Linked DNA regions of Homo sapiens: region 2 is linked to region 1. Evidence: promoter capture Hi-C in 16 types of primary human blood cells and fetal thymus (Javierre and others, 2016). All regions are on one chromosome and are shown on one strand. The core of a region is centred on a gene start or on the middle of the fragment in contact, and the rest is flanking DNA. Distances in the headings are between cores, read along the strand shown. Region 1 holds the start of SLC30A9 (solute carrier family 30 member 9). Region 2 holds the start of ANAPC4 (anaphase promoting complex subunit 4).

The links. The method cuts DNA at HindIII sites, captures the fragments that hold promoters and counts their contacts. A CHiCAGO score of 5 or more calls a contact.
Region 2: a contact is called between the fragment with the promoter of ANAPC4 here and the fragment with the promoter of SLC30A9 in region 1, in 1 of 17 cell types (total CD8 T cells). The highest score is 5.2, in total CD8 T cells.

The regions. Positions count from the first base shown.
Region 1 is chr4:41,988,791-41,993,170 of GRCh38, reverse strand. It overlaps SLC30A9 (solute carrier family 30 member 9), which reads right to left and starts at 2,641. Exons shown (of 18, transcript NM_006345.4): 1 at 2,411-2,641. The coding sequence starts at 2,519. RefSeq lists enhancers at 2,470-2,609, 2,890-2,969 and a silencer at 2,541-2,760. The HindIII fragment of the contact is 8,038 bases long and covers 216-4,380 here.
Region 2 is chr4:25,375,241-25,379,620 of GRCh38, reverse strand. It overlaps ANAPC4 (anaphase promoting complex subunit 4), which reads right to left and starts at 2,358. Exons shown (of 29, transcript NM_013367.3): 1 at 2,277-2,358; 2 at 2,065-2,203. The coding sequence starts at 2,193. RefSeq lists enhancers at 1,956-2,025, 2,056-2,115 and a silencer at 2,236-2,655. The HindIII fragment of the contact is 5,076 bases long and covers 1-4,380 here.

The DNA of each region.
Region 1 (4,380 bases), core at 1,392-3,891:
TAAATTTCGTTATTAAAATTAATTCTAGGATATATTAAAATTAATTCATCTTTAATTTTACTTTTTTTAATGTGGCTATCAGACAACTCAAAATTACAAACAGGGCTCTCATATTTCTTTTAGACAGTTTCTATTTTGCCTTTAAAGGCATTCCTCATTTTTAAGTATTCAAGCAATCCCTCAAGGTTTCCTCCTCTCCTTATGCTTTATAAGCTTTTCCCAGCCACAGGCATTTTAGAAGCATAAACTAAACCTTACTTCTAGACAAATAAAAACAACTGTTTTTAGATTTTCTTTCTCCAAAAGTTCTTCAAATAGTCTTCTCACATGCATCCAATTTAAATAGTACTCTTTTTCTAAATGATTTTTAAATTTTGCCATAATAATGGTTGCCCTTTTAAGAAATGCTTCATTACTGAAACTAAATTTTCACAAAGTTATTTTTAAAAACCTACTAAGCATTTTTAAGTGTAAAAAAAATTTTAATTTTTTGTAGTAATAAACATTCCAAACAACTTTGCAAAGTCATTTTGACCACTAAGGTAGGTAATAATTATCTGTGTTTCACAGACAGATGAGACAAAGAATACATAATTTTCAACATAATGACAGCTACACAGAAGAGGGATTACAAATTACACTGTTTCTTCTCCTTTTTGCCAACACTTAAAGGGCAGTTTAGACTAAATTTAACAGCCACTGTAATTTCAGTGTAAAATGCCAAAATTGCTTGGTCAATAGAAACAATTGTGTTAGAAACTTACTTGGGGATTCTGGAGTACAGTATAAACGTATGATTCATTTTTCTTTTTCTTTTCTTTTTTTTTTTTTGAGACAGGTCTCACTCTGTCACCCAGGCTGGAGTGCACTGGCATGCTCAAGGCTCACTGCAGCCTCAATTTCCTGGGCTCAAGCGATCCTCCCACCTCAGCCTCCTGAGTACAGGCTAGGATTACAGGCGCGCGTCACCAAACCAGGCTAATTTTTTGTAGAGAGGCAGTTTTGCCATGTTGCCCGGGCTGGTCTTGGAACTCCTGGGCTGAAGCGATCCACCCACCTCAGCGTCCTAAGGTTTACAATCTTCCTGAGGATTAGCAGCATGAGCCACTGCACCCAGCCGATGATTCATTCTGTCCATAAGGGAACCTGGCAGTATATTGCCAATATGGAAAAACTCAACAGTTACACTTTTCTATCACTACCAAAAAAGCCCTGGGAATAGTGCTGTTAAAATTTATCCGTTTGAAATTCTAAGATTCAGCTTTACATTTATTGCAAATAAAAGATACGAATATATTCTAATTTATATCCACAGCATAGTTACTATAGCTTATATTACATAAAATCTCGAATGACTGCAACTTCCGACTTCTTTCAGGAGGTCACGAACATGTTACAGGTTTTTTCAAACCTATGTTTTTACAGACAGCTCACTATGTTGCCAAGGCTAGCCTAGAACTATTGGGCTCAAAAGATCTGCCTGCCTCAGTCTCCCGAGTAGCTGGACTACAGGAGCGCACCACCACACCTGGCTTCGAACATGAATGTTTCGGTAAATACTCTCTGCATCCCAAGAATGGAGGGATTAGGTTAAGGGTGGACTTAGTTCTGTCTTCTCCCTCAGAGATCCTATCAGTTCTCAGTGTCAAGCAATGTGTGTCAAGCTACGGCAAAAACGAAGGTAAGCCTGATTAGTTCAATGTTATTTTGGAAACTCTCAAACCATTTAAATTTGAGTCAGAAAAGAATGTTGAGAGAGACGAAAATTCTCTTCAACCACCTTTTTTTCTGGGTTACCACTACAACTGCCACCTTTTCACCAAAAAGACTGCTCAGCCGAACTGAAGAGTTTCTTTGTTTTTCGGACCCAAACTGGGTTCATTCAATGATTGTCGGATACTTTCGTACTTCTTCCAAAAGATCCGTAGTGAGTAGCACCCCTCCTTCCTTTTAGAAAATTTAAGAAAATAAGTTGGGAGAGTAAGAAAAAGAAGGCCAAGAAAATCTCAACCAAGTGCTAAATGAAGGTGCGCTGGAAAGCTCCAAAGACCCTGGAACTTTGCGGAGTCCGCAATTTCCAACCGCGGAGGTGAGTAACCGCGGGACACCGCGATGCGCACGTAACATTTTGTTTGGTACAAAGCGGTAGGCTTCAGAGGTGCAATCCGGCCCGCGAGGTGCCCACAAGTTCCCGCGGGGGCCATGCTAGGGCTGCAGAAGGCATCAGAGTCAGAGACCTGTCAGGACCCCCGCGGGCTGCGCAGGCTGAACTGGAAAGGCGGAGGCCAGAAAGGAAGGTTCTGAGGTTGGCGAAAGGCAAGTGGGCGAATTGCCCCAGGCGAGGCGCCGAGCCCAGCCTGGCCCTCCAGTTCGGCTTCTACGGAGCCAGCGGCCAGCGCGGGACACTCACCCTGGCGGTCGCTGGGATTACAGGCCGCCGCCCTGCATCGCAGACGGAGCCGGCACAGGGAGGACCAGCTACATCTGTGGGCCGCGGCGGCGGCCAAGCCGGGTAACATCCTGGTGGGGCAGAGGCCCCTACTCGGACACCGCCTTCTGCCTCCGCGCCGCCACCGGTACCAACTGACTCCATAGACTGGACATCAGCGAACACCGATGGCTTCGCCGCCACAAGCTGCCTGGGTGACCCGGAAACGGCAACGTCATTTAGCGACGCCTGCCGTGGAGGTAGCGGAAGTGACGTAACACGTTGAGCACCAATAGGGAGGCCTTCCTTCCCGGGGACCCAGACTCCCAAAGTGGGGAGGGCGTGGCTGCAGGGGAAGTTTGGTGTCTGCCGTCTTCTTTTGCACCTGTACTTTTGCGCTTGGTTGGAAATCACGTAAACTGTTTACATCTTGTTCAGCCAGGAAAGCTGTCCTTTGGGAGTTCTACTTATTCCTTTTTTTCTGGACTCGAAACCGGGGCCGTGGTTTCGGAAATGGGAGGAAAGATGGGAAGGATGGACGCAGGTTTTCTGAGCCTCTCTACCTAGAGCCTGCCAGGATAAACCCAAATTAGAACCAACATGTCCAGTACTCTCCGAACGTCTGCCACGTACATCGTTCTCCTTGTTAACACCAGTGTGTATCCAGTATCATAAAGGCAAGTACACACTTCGGAATCAGCTACTTGCCCTACTAATCTGTGAACCTCAGATTTTTGCCTGCAATATAAGAGGTTTTATGTTCATGACAAGTTAGGGTAAACGGAGGTATGCAGACTTCGAAACATTTTGGTCCCAGGGAGAAAGAAACCTGAACAGTATCCACGTTAACTGTTTCTCTCTGCCATGCTCATTCAGCTCTTAACTCAAACTCAAGAGAGGCCTTCCTTGACCACCCTAGCTATGGTAGTCCTGGTCATTCTCTACCCGGCTGTCCTATATACTTTTCTTCAAAACGCTTATCACTATTTGAGATTTTTTTTTCTATTTTGTGTCCTAGAATAGAAAATAAGCATCATGATGCTGGAATCTTGTCTATTTTGTACATGGCTGTATAAAGCCGCTAAAACAATGCCTGGCAAAAATAAATTGAATGGAATGTATGGTGGTTTGTTTTAAAGTTAATCTGAGTCGCTTATCTATATTACTGCAAAATAACTATCTCGGGGAAATTTAGTATGTCCTTAATTTTTAAAAAAATCAACAAGTCTCTTATACTAATTGAGATAAGTATAACCAAATGAGGAAAGAGATTATCGTTAAGAATGGTAAGCAAATTTAATTTCCTATGACAAACATAACTTAAAATATTCAGTGGACAAACATTAAAAAATGATGTCCCATAAATGTAGGCTCAATATTACTAAAAAATCTGAATATTACTGGAAAGTTACTTTCCCTTTCTTGTAATAGATTTTAATAGAAATTCAACTTTATGAAGTAAAAATACATAAAGGCTTACCTCTTATTTTATGGTAACTATGCAAACATCTATTAACTTTTATGGATAATTCTTTTTGAACAAAACTAATCTCATATTTTGGATTCTTAAAATGGCTTTGGTTTCAACTCGTTTTAGGCAAGCCTGATCAAAACTTCTCAGGTTTTATTTTTAATTTGTGCGATAGGATTATTATTTTTATTTTGTTTAGCTGTACTAATCATTTTTAGAAGAAAATGTTCCTTTCTTGATAAAACTTTTAAAAAAAATACATTTTGTGCAGAGTTCTTAATTTCCATAACAGCCCACCTGATGTGTAAAATATGTTGGTGCACAGTAAAATTTCACAGTGTGTGCTTTCCTGTCCTTCTTTTTCCTGGTATAGTTGGGGTGTAACTTGACTTAGACACTACTAATTGTTATAAACCTCCAGTACCCTTGATTTGCCAAATAAGTTTGAAGAACAAAGTGTATCATTTTCTGTTACCTTAAC
Region 2 (4,380 bases), core at 1,109-3,608, about 17 Mb after region 1:
ATCATGAAATTAATATCTTCGTACTTTTCTCTGAAATGTGCCTCTCACCTGAGGACAATGCTTCCCTGCAGCCTTGCTAGGTGGTGGCCATTTTGTATCCCACAGCCCCTGTACTGCTGCTTTTGGGCTAGGAGATGAAGTAGGTGTCTTCCTTGATGCTTGATGCCATTTCTTCTCTTCTTGTAAATCTCCTAACTTTGAATCACATGCAATCAGACCATACCACTCGCTATCCGTCTTAATTGCAGTCCTCTACAGACCCCTAGGCCATTCCCCTCATTCCTTAAAGATCTGGATACCTGGCTTGCTCATGCCTTCTAACAACACACTCATCATCATTTTTGGTGATTTCAAGAGCTATGATGTCCTGGCTTTTCAGCTCTCAATTACCTCTCCTCCAGTGATCACATCTTCTACTGCACTCAGCCACTCCCAGGGTCACACCTCCGGCCTGGTCATTACCAACAACTGCAGGGCCACCAAAATCTCCATTTTAAACTTCCCACTTTCCATCCACCACCCCTCTTTCCAGGTCATCTCTACAACACTCAACTCCAATTCTTTGACCTCACCAGGATACAGTCTATTGATTCTACCACCTGTTCACTGTCCCTCTCCCCACACATGCCTTCACTTCCCTCCTTCATCAGGTTAGAACCCAAAGTTCAGAAACACAATCACTCCTCTTGCACGTAACTTCAACTCTCTTTCATCTTTGCCTTGCTTTGTCATACTTGCAAAACGACAATCCTGGTTAAACCCAACCATGCCTGCACCCACACAGCCAAACAGAACGGAGAGAGACACATACAACCTTATTCAACCAGTGTCTCTCAAATAATAACACCGATCTCATGTGGGTCTTAACACTGACTGGCAATCCTATTAGGTTTCCCAAGTCCACCTGCTTTGTTAGCTTTTTCATACCTCTTCTTTCTCCTCAAACTTCCAATATATTCTTCTCCATCTTCACCCATAAACAATGCCCTTGCTTCTTCCTTCACTGAGAAAATGGATGTAACAGTGCCCTCTATCACGCCTACCCATCTGATTGCACGGATGTGCCTCCCGTCTACCTTCCCTCCTACTTCTGTGACGGTACCACCTGCTGCTCTCTAGAGCCACAACAGAGTTTCAAAGCATCCCGGCAGCGGAGGGAGACTAGCTAGATTTCATGGAGGGCCCTGAAAAATTAGACATCAATACCCTGGCGACTGGATCATGGTAGATAACATGGTGCAGACTACAGTCTGCAGGGTGCTAAGATTTCCTTATCACCTAGTTTCCAAATTTGGCTCTATACAACTCTCACATGGCCAGATAACTCTCAAGCCAGAGGCGGAAAGATGCACAGGTGAAGGTTTCCTTACAAAATGGCTGGCAGGTAATAACTCTCAGCAGAAAGTTGGGTACAACTGGTTTATACTCGATGAAGTTTTATGTGAACAAGAAATGCTGATAACACCCATGCACGTTCTGTCTGGAATCCAATGCATGCCTTCCTTGTCCAATTTAGAGGTATTTTTAGTGGAGGGTGGTTATCCAACCCGTACTATAAAACGTGGACAAGAGAAGCCAGGTTCTTAAATATATCCTGTGTGGCAGCTACATGCAGGCACATTTGCAGCTGAAGTTTGACAATAACTCTTCCTACTGCTATTAAAACTGTAAGCAAACTTAGGGCAGGGTCCCTGCATCTACCATTATGTCTAGCTCATGAGCAGCACATAGTGGGCTTTTTTAAAAAGTTCATTTAACTAATAAACCAATGAGTGAAGAAGACTTGGGGAAGCAGGATTGCGTGACGGTGTTAAGCTGTGTGAAAACTGTTACTTTAGCCATAAAAGTACCGAAAATAGCACAGACATCACCTTTCGCATATATACTTAAAGTTTACTGCCGTCCTGGGAGGCAGGGAAGGGGTAGCAGGTGGCCAGCCATGTCTGCAGAAGGGGAAACTGAGGCTCCGGCCGCCTGTGGCCCGAATGAACAGGCTCGGGCTCGGTGTTCTTGGGCCCCCCGGGAGCAGACCCAGCACAGGCGGGCTCCCGCCGGCTCACTCACCTCGCCAGCTGTGTTGGCCAAAGCAATGAGATCCCGCTTGGGCGACCAGACCAGGAAAATAATCTCCTGCGGGAGCTGCTTCTCTCCCACCACCCGGAAGGATGGGAAACAGGTCGGAAAACGCAACATGGGGACGGCCCTGCAACGACACCCCAGTCAGAGGCCGGCAGGAGCCCCCGGCTCTCCACGAGGAGCCCCGACCGCGCCTGTACCTGCAAGAGTCCCCACCGGCAGACTAACACGGCCCCAGTGGCCTCTCCCCTCCCTCTGCCGGCCGCGCGCCACAGCCTCCAGGCCGCCCCGCCCCGCCGCTGTCGCGCGCTCCAGGCACTTCCGGCGTCGGGACTGCCTCGCGAGAGGAGGAGGAGGGGCGGGGCGCGCACCGGTCTTGGGGGTGCTGAGAGCCAGAAGGGGCGGACAGGGACGGGGCGCGGTGGGCGGGGCAGGGAGGAGCGAGGGGCGGATCGAGGTGGGGGTAGGATGGGGCCCGTGGGCGGGGCAGGGAGCAGCGATGGGGCAGAGCTAGGAAGGGTGGGGCACGCGGGCGGGGCAGGGAGCCCCGAGGGGCGCGGAGAGGGAGGGAGCCGCGCGCCGGACCCAGGTGCTGGTGGGATCGCTGGGCGCCGGGACCTGAAAGGGCCCGAGAAGGGCGGGGCAGGCCCCTGCGGCCACACGCAGGTCTTTTGGGAACCCGTGTGTGCACGTGTGTGGGCATGCTTGCATACCTTTCCCGTTTTCCCGGAAATTCTCTGCTGTGGGCAAAGGGACGGTAGGGGTTTATGGGGTAGGCTTCAGCGACAACGGGGAGATGAAAAAGAATATGAACTTTAGGTCCTGATCAGCTGGCGCCTCCTCTAACAGTTACTAAGCGAGTAGTTCTCATGTCAGTCCTGGTGGGTCAGTATAGAATTTTAAAAGTCCCCCTGTCCAAGCAGCACCCCAAACCAATTAGAAGAAAATTAACCCTGGATGGGCCCAGTATTTACTAAAACTCTTTGGGTGATTCCAATTTGGAGAGAAGAGGCGCGTGCCCTAAAACCTCCCTAACAGGCAAATAATACTGTGACATCTCATCCCATTTAACCCTCACAACTTATTGGTAGTTGCAGCACCGTCATAACGAATAAAGAGTGTGGGCTCAGGGCCGGGCGCGGTGGCTCACGCCTGTAATCCCAGCACTTTGGGAGGCCGTGGCGGACGGATCACAAGGACAGGAGATAGAGCCCATCCTGGCTAACATGGTGAAACCCCGTCTCTACTAAAAAATACAAAAAAGTAGCCAGGCATGGTGGCGGGCACCTGTAGTCCCATCTACTGGGGAGGCTGAGGCAGGAGAATGGCGTGAACCCGGGAGGCGGAGCTTGCAGTGAGGCGGAGCTTGCAGTGAGGCGGGGCTTGCAGTGAGGCGGAGCTTGCAGTGAGCCGAGATTGTGCCACTGCACTCCAGCCTGGGCAACAGAGCCAGACTCCGTCTCTAAAATATAAAAAAAGAGTGTGGGCTCACACACGATTTCTTCTATAGGTACTTGGGCATTTACTATGTGGAGGAACTGAGGCTACAGCAATGCATGGGACGGGAACTCTGCCCAGAGGCTCACAGGCCAGCCTGGCAGACTTGTAAATCAGAACTCATCTGATGTTGCTTTATGTAGGACACATTTAAATGAGTCAACCTGTTGACAGTTCCCACAGCTATGACCTCCCTAAGAGAATGTGACAGTACCATCCTAGGGTTCTTAAACTTAAAACCTATGGTAGAAAGCCATCTACTTTTTACTACCTTTCACTTGTTCAAAGAAGAAACAGACGGCAGGTCCTTTAACTTTCAACAGGCCCCATCTTCTTGACCTCTGTCTGGATCTAGCCCCTGGGAAGTAGATGACGGAGGGAGACTAATTCATTCAGCATCAAGTAACTATTTTGTGCCAAGTACTGTTCTTAATCCTTGACTTTATACCTACCCTGCTTCCTGTCACGGGCTTTGCAGCCCTTGCCTTTGCCACAAACAACTTACCAAGTGCCCCCAACTCTTCCAGAATCAACATTTCTAAGGTAAAAATGCATTTGCCTTTGTTTTTCACAAAATGCATTTTCAGGTGTTAGTGTTTTGGGGCAGTTATAATGGATCACCTGGTGGGGGTCTAGTATCTATGCACATTAACCTTCTTACGGAAATTGAATGTCCATTTTCCTGGAACTTACCTGAATACAAACACCCATACAGCACGTGAAAATCACTGTTCCCAGAGGCATAAACACCGTACTGCAAAGGACAGAGTATAACCACCTGCACATTAAGTCTTCACAGAATATAAA